Linked DNA regions of Homo sapiens: regions 2 and 3 are each linked to region 1. The links are contacts of gene promoters, found by promoter capture Hi-C in blood cells and fetal thymus (Javierre and others, 2016). All regions are on one chromosome and are shown on one strand. The core of a region is centred on a gene start or on the middle of the fragment in contact, and the rest is flanking DNA. Distances in the headings are between cores, read along the strand shown.

Evidence for each region. Contacts are between HindIII fragments. The CHiCAGO score rates a contact against its expected background, and 5 or more counts as called.
Region 2: a contact is called between a fragment that was not itself captured here and the fragment with the promoter of FARP1 in region 1, in 1 of 17 cell types (endothelial precursors). The highest score is 7.1, in endothelial precursors.
Region 3: a fragment that was not itself captured here is called in contact with the fragment with the promoter of FARP1 in region 1 in 1 of 17 cell types (endothelial precursors); the score reaches 6.5 in endothelial precursors.

What each region holds. Positions count from the first base shown.
Region 1 is chr13:98,140,894-98,145,492 of GRCh38, forward strand. FARP1 (FERM, ARH/RhoGEF and pleckstrin domain protein 1) reads left to right here and starts at 2,201. Exons shown (of 27, transcript NM_005766.4): 1 at 2,201-2,599. LOC105370328 (a long non-coding RNA gene) reads right to left here and starts at 3,017. Exons shown (of 3, transcript XR_931670.4): 1 at 2,946-3,017. RefSeq lists silencers at 1,652-1,701, 1,942-2,251. The HindIII fragment of the contact is 2,199 bases long and covers 1,664-3,862 here.
Region 2 is chr13:98,442,775-98,447,373 of GRCh38, forward strand. FARP1 (FERM, ARH/RhoGEF and pleckstrin domain protein 1) reads left to right here. Exons shown (of 27, transcript NM_005766.4): 25 at 3,324-3,431; 26 at 3,892-4,043. It overlaps STK24 (serine/threonine kinase 24), which reads right to left. Exons shown (of 11, transcript NM_001032296.4): 11 at 2,411-4,599. Among named protein-coding and RNA genes, the nearest start is that of FARP1-AS1, 9.2 kb to the left of the region's middle. RefSeq lists enhancers at 2,466-2,515, 3,286-3,335 and a silencer at 3,061-3,355. The HindIII fragment of the contact is 2,233 bases long and covers 135-2,367 here.
Region 3 is chr13:98,401,307-98,405,905 of GRCh38, forward strand. The region is part of intron 13 of FARP1 (FERM, ARH/RhoGEF and pleckstrin domain protein 1); the gene reads left to right. Among named protein-coding and RNA genes, the nearest start is that of FARP1-AS1, 32 kb to the right of the region's middle. The HindIII fragment of the contact is 748 bases long and covers 1,872-2,619 here.

The sequences.
Region 1 (4,599 bases), core at 951-3,450:
ATTTTCTGCGCTTTCTATGATTTTTTGCTTTTATTATTTTTATGATTTTTTTTTTGAGATGGAGTCTCACTTTGTTGCCCAGGCTGGAGTGCAATGGCACGATCTCGGCTCACTGCAACCTCTGCCTCCCGGGTTCAAGCAATTCTCATGCCTCAGCCTCCCGAGTAGCTGGGATTGCAGGCGCGCACCACCACGCCCAGCTAATTTTTGTATTTTCAGTAGAGACGAGGTTTCCCCATGCTGGCCAGGCTGGTTTACAAGTTCCTGACCTCAGGTGATCCACCTGCCTCAGCCTCCCAAAGTATTGGGATTACAGGAGTGAGCCACCGCGCCCGGCCTAATTTTTTCCTTTTAGTTGGGAGGTATGACATAGCACTTTGCTACTACGTGTAGTCCTTGGACCAGCAAGTAACACCTGAGAGCTTGTTAGAAACAGTCTCAGACTTACTGAATCAGAATCTGCATTCCAACAAGATTCCCTGGTGATTCAGGTATACACTAGAGTTTAAAAAGCCGCCTACAGCAACTGTTCTCAAACCTGGCTACACACTGGAATCACCTGCGGAACTTTACTGATGCCTGGGTTAGAATCTTTATATATTTGGCTGGGGTGCAACCAGGGTGTTGTTTTTTAATCGCAGATGATTCCATGAGTTTGAGACCCACTGTCCTAACACTGTGATCCTCCAAGTGTGATCCCAGGACCAGAGCAACATCACTATCTGGGAATTTGTTAGAAATGCAAACTCTCAGGCCCCACCCCAAACCTACTGAATCGGCAGCTCTGGGGATGGAGCCTGACAGTCCTTTATCCCTGCAGGCGATTCAGATGCTTGCTAAGGTTTCATTAGGTAGGTCGGGGATGCGGCCCAAGAATGTTCATTTCTTGACGTTTCCAGGGGCTGCTGGTGGTGGTCGTGGTCTGAGAACCACACTTAGAGAATCACGAGCAGAAAAAAATCTGATCTGTGACACACAGCTGGTTGGGCTGACAGAGCAAAGCCTCAAACCCACCATTTCTTCTCTTCAACCACAGACCACCAAATCTGCAAGTATTACATCTCTGCTCCTCCCCAGGAGCTGCCCACAAGCACCCCCTACTTCCAAGACCCCTGTTCTTGTCTCAACCCGCCCTTCTATCAGGGTCCCTACACTCCACTTCTGCCCAGCTCCTGTCCAGCTGTGAGTTCACTTGAGGCCTCTCCCGTGAAATCTGCCCTCTCGGTCTGAGGTCAGGGAACTCCTGTAAGACGCAAAAGGCCCACGGTTCTGAGCCAGTGGCCTCCGAAGGCCGGAATCCGCTAGCCCCGGGTCTGGCAGAACGTCACTTGCTGCGCCCTAGGCCTCTTCCCGCCACGCTTAGAGAGAGGGACTGGAGGCTCAGAAGGGGGAAGAGAAGGTAACGCGGCAGCTGCTGGGTGGGGACGGTGACTGTGCCCCTAGATCGCTGCCTCCTGGGTCCTGAATCTTGCTCCCCGCTCCGTAGAGTTCCCGAAACCCCGAAGGCTCTCAAGCACCGCAAGCCACTCCTAACCTCCCCCACGCCATTCCCCAAGGGCACTGTCCCCCGAGGCTGGGCGGGCGGGAACTGTCATGGGATTCGCTCGGGCGGAGGGCGCTGGGCCAGGACGTGGGCGGGCGCGGGGTGGCCGCCGCTCCCCCAAGCTTAAGTCCCGCGCAGCCCGGGGTGGTGCCGGAAGCCCGTGCCTGTGGCTCCGGGGGAGGGGAGGGCTCGGTGGGTCCCTGAAGACTGTCCTCCCCGCGCGACGTCGCAGGCGAAGCAGCCCCAGGCAGGACCTCAAAAAGCGACCTGCAGAGTCCGAGCCCCTGACCGCCCGCCTGCCGCTCCCGGCTTCGCCGTGCACACGTCTCCCGCTCTCCCCGGTTCGTTTTTCGCCACAGCTGCTGGATTCGCGTCTCGCCAGTGGCGCTCCCCGCGCTGCATTAGGTAGCGCCGCGCGGAGCCCGGCCCTGGCCGGAAGCCCAAGAGAGGCGCAGATCCCCGGCGGCGCGCTGGGCTCGGGAGGCCCCTGGGCGCACCTGCCCGGGCGGAGCGGAGCGGGGCGGGGCGGGCGCAGGGCGCGGGCCCGGACGCTGGAGGGGGCTGTGGCTCTCCCGCGTCCCCGCTGCTCGGGCTGCGCGGCGCCCGCCTCCCCCCGCCGAGGGGCCGGCCCAGACCCGGGGAGGGGCGGTGGCCACTGCACTTCCCGCTCGCCGGCCTCAGAGGCGGCGGGTCCGGCGCGGGCGCAGCGGTGCGGGCGCTCGGCTGGGGCGCGGGGCGGGGACGCGGCCGCTGCCCGCTTTGCGCCGCTCCTCCCTGCGCGAGTAGCGCTGGCCCCGGCGTCGAGGCGGCCATGGCGACCCGGAGCCCGCTCCCCACCCACCCCGCCTGCTCCGCCCTCCCCTCCGCCCCGCGCCACCTTTGATGGCTCGGACCTCAGCCGGCCACCGCCAGCCCTGCTCGCGCGCCCGCGCCGCCGCCGCCCGCGGGTATTAATAGCCGGCGCCGCCGCGCCCTCGGCCGCCGGGGGCTTGGGAGCCGCCGATCCCGGAGCCCGAGCCGGGAGAGGGAGCCGCCGCAGCCGCCGGCGCTGTGGAGGTAGGAGGCGCGCGGTGAACAATGACCGCGGCGGGAGGGCGGGGGCCGGCGGGGTCCGGGCCGCGGGCGGCAACTTGTGCGAGTCCAGGCTCCCGCAGCGCACGGCCGCGGCTGCGGGCGAAGGTGGGCGCGTGGTCCCCGAGGTCCTGCCCTGCGCAGTCGGGCGGCGGGTCGGGCCCGGGCAGCCCCGGCCACCATCGCAGGAGCTCGGGGGCCTCGGGGCTCCGGGCTGCCCCCTGCGCCCCTCTCCCCTCACCTCCGCCGACGTCGGGCTGCGGGGCTCCGCGCCGGTCCCCGCTCGCCTCCCCCGACCCCGGCGCCCTTCCCCCGTTTCCTTCCGTCCTACCCGCCCGCTGACAGCGCTGGACGCCGCTTCCGGACCTCGGGCCGCAATCTCGGCCCCTGAGGCCGGTTGCGGGCCGGGGAGGTGGCCGCTGGCGCGGATGCCGCCGGGTGCCCGCCGCTCGCCCACGCGCGGCGCGAGGGTTCCCGGCGGGTGACAAAGAGGAACACACCCTCTGCCCAAGTTAGATTTGTGTCTCTCTTTACTGTCTGCCTTTATGCAGGGCAAAGTTTTTTTTATTTTTTATTTTTTAAAGCAAAGGACAGATTGCTTTGCGGCGAGTATTTCCAAACAACTTCTGATTGTGGTTTTACGATTCAAGTTCCGGAAACTTTAGCTGTGTGATCCGGCTGGACCCCGGAGACTCTGTGTGTGTGTGTGTGTGTGTGTGTTTTATTTGAGGGGGGGAAATACGAATTCCCTGTAATGAGTCTGGATCTCGTTTGTGGCAGCTGGAGGCCAGCGGCTGTTGGGGATCGAGTAGGGTTCCCCAGAAAGGAGGGAGCTGAGGCTCACAAAGAAGCGAGGCCCTGGTATCTGATCAGTTCGTGGAGACGTGGGAGAGCCTGCTTGTCATCTGGAACAGTTTAGCAGCCTCGGCCTCCCTGTCTCTCCCAGCCCTGGGGAGTACCGGTGGCCTCTGGCCGTTTCATTATATTGTTGTTAAGGCTCTTCTCCTTGTCAGTTTACCAGGTTTGACCGCCCAGCCCTGGTCTCTGCGTGGAAACCCCCGGGGGCCCCTCTCCTTCCAGTAGGCAACATCTTCAGAGCCAAACCCTGGCCTAGCACTGGCTTCTGTTTAATGTGCTTTGCACGTGGTGACTTGCGGAGCCCATTTCAGAACATCCTCCAGCATTGTCTTGCTTTTCTTATTCAGTCTGAACAAGGAGAGGAGAAAGAAACATCTTTCTGGTCCTGAAAGCTTTAGGGAGAGTTGCCTTAAAAATTGGCTTCGTTGTTCCGGAGACTTTAGGAGGGCCCTGCTTCATCCTATCTTTGGCTTTCTCCCTCCTTCCACAGTGTTCTCGTAGGGGGTTTATTCTCAGTCTTTCGGATGGGTTGGTCTCCAGGATGTGACAGTTTCTGACAGTGTGCTTCATAAGTGGGTACAGCTAGCACATGGCTCACTTTATATTCCTGCAGCATCGTTCTGCAGCAAGGCATCAATATTGGAGTTACTCCAAGCACAACGAAGCGTTTGTGTTTTTAGAATGTCTGGCTAATAGATCTGCTTCTGGGTAAAATAAATAGAAGCATTATTGGGCAATGGCTGCTTTACTGAGGGAATTGTTGGTGGAGACAGTGAGTAGATGCCTTCCTAGCCCAGCGCCTCCCAGAATCTCTTACTTGTTTCTTTTATGTGAATGGGAAACTGGAAACCCTCGGTGTGGAGGTGGCTGTGCCTCCTAGGGGCAGATTCTATGGTGCACCACCCCGCCCCCGTTACTTGGGGTGTGGTGTTTCATTGAGAAGTTCTGTCACTGTGGGAATCCTTTTGAAGCGTGGTTTCTAATGCCCCCTTTCACATTGATATTCTCTTCCTTTAATTGATACAGGGATGGATTTATTCCTTGCTTCATAATAGAATGTTAACTTTACTCTGTAGCCAGACTTATCAAAGAAGATCTTAAAATAATTATCCTGGACAAGTTTCTTA
Region 2 (4,599 bases), core at 1-2,500, 300 kb after region 1:
GGCGTGTGTCTGAAACGAAGCCAGTCGATGTGTGGCGCCGCCACTGGGGAGGAACCGTCTTGGCCTTGCTTCGTCCTGACCTCAGCAATGTGTGAATTACGACTCTCAAGGCTGGGGTTTGTCATAGGCCTCAAAGCTTTTTACATACCTGGAGGCACCCAGGCCATTCAACGAGGCAGCAAATACCCAAGTGGGGTCCAGGTGGCCCAGAGCCACCTGCAGCCCAGCTTTTTTGGATAACAAATCTACACGGTCGCAGCCTTCCGTGTGCATGATCAGGTCAAGGCACTGAGTCAGGGGCACGCTGGCCCCCAGCCAGATCTAGCCCCGGCCTGGTGGCTTACAGCCTGCGAACCAAGAATGGGTTTCACTTTTTTTTAATGGCTGCTACATAATGTCTTCAGTTTTGCCCCTTGGCCTGCAAAGCCTGAAATATCTGCCGTCTGCCTTTTGAGGAAAAGTTTGCTGACCCTAGTAGAGAGCAGGAGAGTGAGCCACTGGCCAGTGGGGTTTGAAGGTGGCAGTGACCACCTAGTACAGTCAGGGACCTGGGCTGCTCTATCACTTTGCAGATGTCCCTCCTTGCCAGAAAGCCCCCTCCCAAGGCACGTGGCATCAATCTTGTGTCGGTGGCAGGCAGCCCTCATGTGCCAGACGCCAAATGCTCGCTGACTCGCAGATGAGCCATCCCCAGGGCCTCCTCCCTGCATGACAGGACAAAGCAGCTCCATCTCCTCCTGACTCAACAGCCTCCTCTCCCCAGTCCCGTGCCCAGCCTCTCCCAGTTCCCACTCCCGTCTGACTCGTGTAGGCACACTTGAGGAAGGGGCGTATCTGGGGACCGTGTGGCCTCACTGGCCTCTGCTAAAAGTTGTGGGCAAGCCGGCAGGCCTGGGGGCTCCCACTAGAGGTGGGGTCAGATGTTGGGATGGCCAGAGGGCTGCCCAGCCTGTGGGCACTAGAGCCAGTGAAGGGCCAGAGGCAAAGCAATGCAAGTTGTCTTTTAAGGCTGGAGTGGCGAGACGGGACAGCAGGGAAGTTGTTCAGCAGACAGAGCGCAGACAGGACTGGGAGGAGGGAAGGGACGGGGTGCAGACAGGACCGGAAGGAGGGAAGGGACAGTGAGGCCAGGGAGTGGCGGGCACGGGGGTTATATTTGTTCCCCGTGGCGTCACTCGGCACCAACCTCAGACTGGGTGAGGCCACAGAAACATCTCCCACAGTGCGGGAAGCCGGAAGTCCAAAATCAAGCTGCTGGCAGGTGGGTTCCTTTGGGAGGCCTTGAGGGAAAATGTCCCCACCTGACAGCATCTGGTGGCTGCGGCAGTCTTCTTCTCGGGGGGTCCCCGACTCCACCCATGTTGCAGGGCTCCGGTCTGCCGTGTCACCAGCTGTCCTCCCTGTATCTGCACTCTAATATCCTCTTCTAAGGACACGGCTCGTGCTGGGCTTAGGGCTCGTCCTAGTGACCTTACCTTGACTCGATCGCATCTGCAGAGACCCTGTGTCCATGTGAGGTCACCATTGTAGGCACGGAGGGTTTGGACTTGTTGGGGGTGCAATTCAACCCACAGCAGGGTCTGAGGGAATGGGATCCAAGAAGGGAGAGGAGCGGTGGCCCCAATGAAGGGCCACGAGGAGACAGGGCAGGCTGGTCTGGTTCTGAACAAGGATGTTGACCCTCTCGTGAAGGCAGTGAATGGAGACAGGTCTGGGAGCCACCAGCATGGCCTCGGCCTCCTGAGTGCAGGGCAGGAGACTCATGGCGCGCAGGGCCCGTAACACGCTGGAGGCCAGGATGGACCCGACACAGGGGAGCGGGAGGCTCGGCCCGGCCGTGGGGAGCGAGGAAGGGCCGCTGGATGTGCCTATTGATAAAGAGGTTTCCAGAGGCTATTGGAATGGCCAGGCAGAAGCTAGAGAGCGCTAAGGAAGCTGCTTTGGAAACAAATGGGCCCAGACTGTGATGGGTGACATGTATGAACCCCACTGTGGGCTGGCTGCTGTGTGAAAATTATGTGAGTCAGTATGAAAATACCTAGGAAAGGGGAGTGTGCCACCCTCCTTGCTCCATGTTGCGTGACCCAAGATGCCGCATGGGCATCAGCCCAGCCCTGGCCACCACCAGGACCTTCTGGGAACCTGGAGCCTTGCATTTTCTTGTTCCTTTCTGCCACTGGGGGAGGAGGATGGATGGCTGGAGCTGCCTGCCTGGCCTGGAATGCCCTTTCTCCCCGTCTGCGGGGTCCCCCACATCCTGCAGCCCCTCACGGACCTACTGTCAGTGTCCATGTCTCCCACTGGACCCTCCCTGAGCAACTGGAGGGCAGGGACATCAGACCATTTGATCCCAGCTCCCAGCACAGAAGCTTAGTGCCAGGGGCACCCAGAGAGATGGAATGAGGCAGACTCGGAGGTCTGTATTTTTTATTGTGGTAAAATAGCTATACCACAATATTGGCCAACTTAACGATTTTTACGGGAACAATTCAGTGGCATTAAGTGCCTTTACAAGGTGGTGCAACTGCTTTGAGTCTCTGCTGGTGATGTCACTTTGGCAAAGGGACGAAATGAGCCACCAGTGCGTCAGGCCTGCTCAGAGTTGTTTGGAGGTAGCATGGACACAGGTGCCTGTCCCTGCCCCCTAGCTGGGCTGCAGCGCATCCTAACAATGCTCCAGGGGCTGGGCCGGCCCTGAGCCTGGAGGTGGGCAGGGCTGCAACTGCCTCCTGGGCCACTAGAGGGCATGTGGGAGCCACTCACATGCACCCCAGGCCCCACTTCCTGGGTAGGGTGCCTGGCCCCTCAAAACGAGTGCTGCTCTGAGCTTGTTGGGATGGATCTTTCCCTCCTTCAGCTTCCGCCTGCTGGCAATGCATGGGGTCCTGCGCCCCCATTTCTGCCTCGGTGTCACAGGGCACACCCCTCTCCCCTCAAGGTGGCTCTTCTCCTCAGGACACCACTCCCGTTGGATTTAGGGCCCACCCTACCCCAGTGTGATCTCGTCTTCACTAGTTACCCTGCAACGAGCCTATTTCCAAATAAGCCTGTGTTCTAAGGTACTGGTAGTCAGGACCTCAACGTGTCTTTTGGGGGGACACAGGGACCCCAAGATGCCCCACAGCAAGTGACAAGGGGAAGTGATGAGATCAGGGTCCCAGGACCTGCCAAGTCTCCCCACACACGGGGGAGCGGGGGTGGGGCCCACATCCTTCAGTCACGGACATGCCCCAGCCCAGGGCCCTGGTGCAGGGAGAGCTGCTCTCTGTGCCCTCCTGGGGCAGGTGCCCGCTGTGCTTCTCACAGGCCTCCTTGCCTTTCAGAATCAGTTGTCTGGAAACCTGCTGAGGAAATTCAAAAACAGCAACGGGTGGCAGAAGCTGTGGGTGGTGTTCACAAACTTCTGCCTGTTCTTCTACAAATCACACCAGGTAAGTGTCTCGCACAGGGCAGGTGGCCCTGGGACCTTGGGGGTGGCAGCATGAGGTGAGGGGGCCGCCCTCCTCTGGAATGACTCAGGCCTCTTGGGCTCCAGGTGTCACGGGGATGACAGGGATGCTGGCGGGGGGCCCTGTCCACCCGAGGCCCTCAACTCTAGGGAAGACTGACATTATCATCCACTGAAGGACAACTTCTGCCCTAGGAAGGGCCACCTGTCTTCTGCCTGGACAAGGGACGGGGGTTGGCTTTATCTACAGCTCAGTCCTGGCGGGACTTGCCACCCGGGCCATCACGTACAGGCAAACACTGGCTGCCATGGTCCCTTCCAGGCCCACGCCCGAGGAGGGAGCTGCCTGGGCTCCCAAGTCCCTGTCTGATGCGGGGCAGCAGCCAGGCCCAGCAGCAGAAGCTGACCCCGAAAAGCCACTTTGCTTTGTTTCCCCTTTCCAGGACAATCATCCCCTTGCCAGCCTGCCTCTGCTCGGCTACTCGCTCACCATCCCCTCTGAGTCCGAGAACATCCAGAAAGACTACGTGTTCAAGCTGCACTTCAAGTCCCACGTCTACTACTTCAGGGCGGAAAGCGAGTACACGTTCGAAAGGTAGACACCCCCTTCCCACGCACAGGGCCCTGCAGAAGAGGACCCCCTCTTCCAAACATCAGGATTTCTCCCAAGTCAGCGAGTGAGATGGCCCCACCCTTCCCTGCCAACTAAGCGTTTAGACCTGGGGTCCCACTGCCCGACACCAGCAGGCGATTCTGTTCTCATGGCAGAAAGTGGGGTCCCAACTTCCCTGCGCCCTTACCCTGCACGGTGTTGGCTGAGGCCCTAGACATCTTGCTTGGAGATCTCTGACATAACGTGTCCGGGATGATGAAGCTAAGCCCCAGTGAGACTGCCTACATGGTGTAATGGCAGGGACTGCAGACTTCATTTAGCCAAGAAAGAAATGCAACAGTCAGGCCTAAGACTGTTCCTGCAATTCATATTTTGAATAGAGATCCTGGGCCTCTGCAAATTGCATCCCCAAGCCGACTACTTGTGCAGTTTGCCCTGCTGAGCCCTCCTCGCCCCGGGAGGCAGAAGGGGAGGGGTCCTCAGCAATATGCTGAGCACCTCCTAAACAACATCACCTGAAAAAGGAACCTAGAGGAGA
Region 3 (4,599 bases), core at 996-3,495, 260 kb after region 1:
ACACACCTCTCCCAGTTGTTGGGATTTAAAATGAAGCTGTGACTTTTAGGCCAAAATTAGCGTGACACTTAATATAACAGTTTTCTTTCTATTAAAAAATAATGACAAAACACACACACACACACACACACAATCTGTATGATGATTTGGCCTGGAGTTGTAGACATCACAGATCAAAAGTGGCCTGGTGCTAGCTGTTTGGGTATATCCTTGAAAAGGGCAACTTTGTCATTTCCTAGAGTAACCTAGAGAGAGATTTCCAAGCATTTCCCCATGAACAGAAGTGGTAAATGCTGATTTATTGTGCCATATGTGTGTTTGGGAGGAGGGGAGATAGCGTCTTGTTTTGAAAAAAGTTCTCACTTCATAAAATAAACTGCACACCACTCCAAAAAAAAAAAAAAAGATGAAACCTCAAGCAGGAGGAACTTTTTTATTTAACCCCTAGTGAAAGCAATTAAACGTCTTGGTAGATGCTAGGGAAGAATTAGAAAATCTTCTTTTCCTGAAAGCTTTAAACATTGAATAGACTCTGATTTATTCAGGATCATTTCGGTGTAGATTGGCCACTCGACACAGACATCACAGCATGGTAGCCTCGAAACCAAGCCTTCAGCATCTTCTCGGCGCCCGGTGTTGGAGTGTTACTTGGAGTGGAGGCAGTGCATTTGCATCTTCATGTAGTCTCCAGATCAGGTTACTCTGATTTGTCTTGGAGTGGCTTTCTGTTTGAAAGTAGGGAAGATTAAAAATCAACTTGCCACGGGATATCTGATCTCCATGAGTAGTTGAAAGCCAGTCTAAAAGGTTAACTCTACAGGGCCGGCGCCGCCAGTGCGGTCATGGAAAATCGTGCTGTGAGATACTGGAGTGTGCTGCTGGGGCCAGGTGCAGCAATTGCAGAATGTTGAGGAGTGAGGAGTAGTTAGAAATCACTGCAACATGGAAAAGCACACAGACCAAGGACGCTAAGGAGGGAGCGAGGACTACCGGGCAGGTGTGCGTGTGTGGAGTAAAATGCATCGGACAGTGATTGACTCCACTTTTGAGTGAGATGTGGAGGCGGTAGTGGTGTGGGGGTTGTGAGGGAGTGAGTCTGCTTTATTATGAATCAGGATTGATAGCTGGCCTTAAAGTGGGAAATGATAGAAGGGTCACTTAGGAGCCTGCAGTGGCATGGTGACCAGTCTGTTATTACTCATAGATGACCTTTTCTGGCTCTTGAAACCAAGCTAACGACTCCTTTTTCTTCTGGGCCTCAAAGTTTCTTTGTAGGAAGTAAAGCATTTGTCACTTTCCCTGCAGTGATTTATTGAAAGACTGAAGATAGGTCTTCCTTAGTTAAGGACGCACACTGGCTGCTCGCTCCAGAAGCACCAAGAATGGCTGATGGATAAATCCCTTACCCATACTCCTGTTTCTGCCTCCTAAGGTTGCTGTGAAAACCTAACTAACCAAACCTCACCAGCTTGGCCTATATTATTAATCAAATTCCCTTCTGTTCTCTCTGTGTGTATATTTAATACTGTAGATAATATGTTTTATTTAAAATTTCTAATACACCAAATTAATTTGAAATAGAAAAGGCTGGGGACTTCATTCTCATTTTTGTCATTTGTTTAATCAGTTTGGGAAAACATTTTCCGTTGTTCCATTGTATGCAGTGTCTTGTCAGCATGTACCTATCTAGGAGAAAACGCTTTGTTTTCAGCGTTCTGTCTTTACCCTCAAAGCATGGTGTAGCTTCTGTTCTTACACTGTTGGAGCACTGTCTGATGTCTTTTTTTTTTTTTTTAACACTGCTGAATACCAATTTGTACTTGGAATACCTCTTTCCTCTAGAATACAGTGATCCTATTCCCCAAAGTGCAAGCTTTCATGTGGAAGCATCCTAAGTGATCGTCCTGGGTGATGCCATATTTCACTAAAGTGGGAAAAGAAGAGGTGAACTTTGCTCTTCCAACAAGGCTTGCACTTTATACTTTGGGCAGTGCATGGGAGAAGGGGGGCCCTTAGAGGTGAGCAGGATCACTGTAGCTAGAGGAGAGGTCTCACTGAAACAGAACGCATCTGTGACTGTAGCTTGCATGGAGAGCCTAGACAGCCAACCATGGATTTGCCTTTATGTTTTGAATGGAAACATCTATTTCAATTGGGATAGAAACCTTTACCTATGTCATATCTGTAAGAGAATTTAGCTTATAGATATGTAGATACGTGTGTGTGTTGCTGGGTGGGGAAGTGGGTGGGAATGTAGAAAAGGCCTCACCTGACTTGGTCCCAGTTGGCTTCTGATGGCCAAGGAGCTGTTTTTCATTTTGGTGGGCACCCAACATGTAGGTTCTCACAGATGCTGTCTGGTTTCTTCTTCTCTCCATGGCGGAACAATGAAGTACGTCAATAAAGCATGGACTCATACCACTGGGAAGAATGCTGGCTTCTCCAGTAACAATGAGCTTGGTGGTTCTTTGAGCATGGAAGGCCAAGCTCATGTCACAGTGTATGCACGGTATTAATATATCTCTTGTTGATCTAAACTGAAGGGGCTTTTACTTGTCCTAACAGGTATCATGCTGTAAAAACTGTCCATTGTAACTGTTCTTTCCCACTGATGGCTGAAGCTTTGTCCTGAGTACAAGATGGTATTTTTCATTGGTACGAAGCACCATGTTCCCAACCCAAACACTGCCTCCACCACCACCACCACCACCATCACCACCACCACTGCTACTACCAACATCACCACCACCATCACCACCACCGTGTTCAAACAAAGCAGCATTCTCCTGTGTCTTTTCCTCATAAGTAAGAACAAGGTAGCACATTCATTTTTCCATTAGTGCATTTCAATTCTTTTCCTGCAAGTTGCATTGCTATTGCTTTTCTGAATTGCTTGATGATGAACTGTGAAGCTGATGCTTAGCTGCTTGTGAAACTTTTCTTAAAGGAACTGGGTCTAAGAAGCACACATACATTACCCTCAACAACCTCAGGTATCAAGAAGAGGACCACACTGCTAACATGGGTAATCCTATAACCTGGCTTTTCTTGTGGAACTTTGTAATTTCTATAAAATACCGCCAGCTTTGCGTATTCCACTGAGCCCCAACTTAGATATCAGACGCTAGTGAGTCCTGCCTATTCAGGAAGCTACGTATTATTCAGCATAATACTGCCCTTTTTTTTGATAACTGGCTTTCAAATGGGATAATCTCAAGAGAGGTTTCATTGTATCCTCTTAGAGCGTATGGATTTAAATAGAGCCTTTCAAAAAAATAGATGAAAACCTACATCTCTAATATATTTCCTACTTGGGCCTTTTGAGCATATTCTGGGCACATAGAGAGAAAATCTCCTATGTTTTAGAACAGAATAAAAGAAGACAAATTATGGTAGATAAGTGGCACCCAGAAGATTGCAAAATAAATAATTTTATGTGGGGGAATATTGAAGAAAAAGCATAGAAACTTTTTTATAATTGCACTTTAAAATTTTGGAAAAGAAAAATTGAGAATGCAATCAGTAGTCTCATTTTTGTCAGTATTCTGTCAGATATTAGCTATTCAATAAGCATATCTTGGATTACTATTTTTTTAGTTGTCAGTTTTTCTAGTTTCCCCCTTTATAGGAAAAAATAATACCTATGTGGTTAAAAACTGAGACCCATTTAAAAAACAGGACAGGTACAGTTAAGTACTAGAAATGCCGTTTTTATCACTTGAAAAATAGATTAGAAATGTTTTTCTTTTCCCAGAATTGTGTGAGTTTGTTTTGAAGCCTTGAATACCGGTACATGGTTAACAGGCAGCTTGTGCCCAATCCCAAAGCGGGAAGAAAGGCCTGGCTTTGGCTCACTGATGATAAAGTCTCCTCCCACTGCCTTTCAGCAGCTCTGCCGAAGAGCTGATCAAGATGCTGCAAACCCAGCTTCCCCAGACCGGCCAAGAGGGAAGAATGATGAGCGTGTTTTAAATTACAAAGAGAGAGCAGCGCAGGCAGTTTCTGGTCTGGGTGATAAATTGAAATCCATAAATATAGCAGTGCTAATTTGAAGTTCCGTAATTGTTTGTGCCATGAGAATGTGTACATTTGAAAGGATTTTATAAAGCAATTACTAGAAATGCCTCCCTTGAGAGCTGTATGACTGGAGGTGTTTTCAGTCTGAGGGGGGCAGCATAAACCCAAACCTCTTCTAGATGAATGGCAGGGTGGCGGGAGGGGTCATGAAATCATGGGGAAGAGGTGAAGGATTTGAGAGCTACTAACCTGACATCTAACTGAATGCCTAAGAAATTGCAGGGCAATTTCAGGAAATAGGAAAAATAATTTTGAAAACATTCAAAGCCTCCAGACTTTCGGTGTGTGACTGATCTTTTTTCTAATCTCTTTAAACTTCTTTCCACCTATTGCCTTAATAGCAGGTGCTTCCTCTTAGGGTCCCCCCAAATTATTTACCTCGAGTTCCCTAATGAAATTACTTTGCATTAATTTGTCATAAAGGGAGAAGTGCTAGAAATACCGAGGCATTGATAATTTCATGGAGTAGCAATGAATGTCAGTCACAGTTTCCTCTCCCCGTTGCCCGGGGCTGTGCCTTCA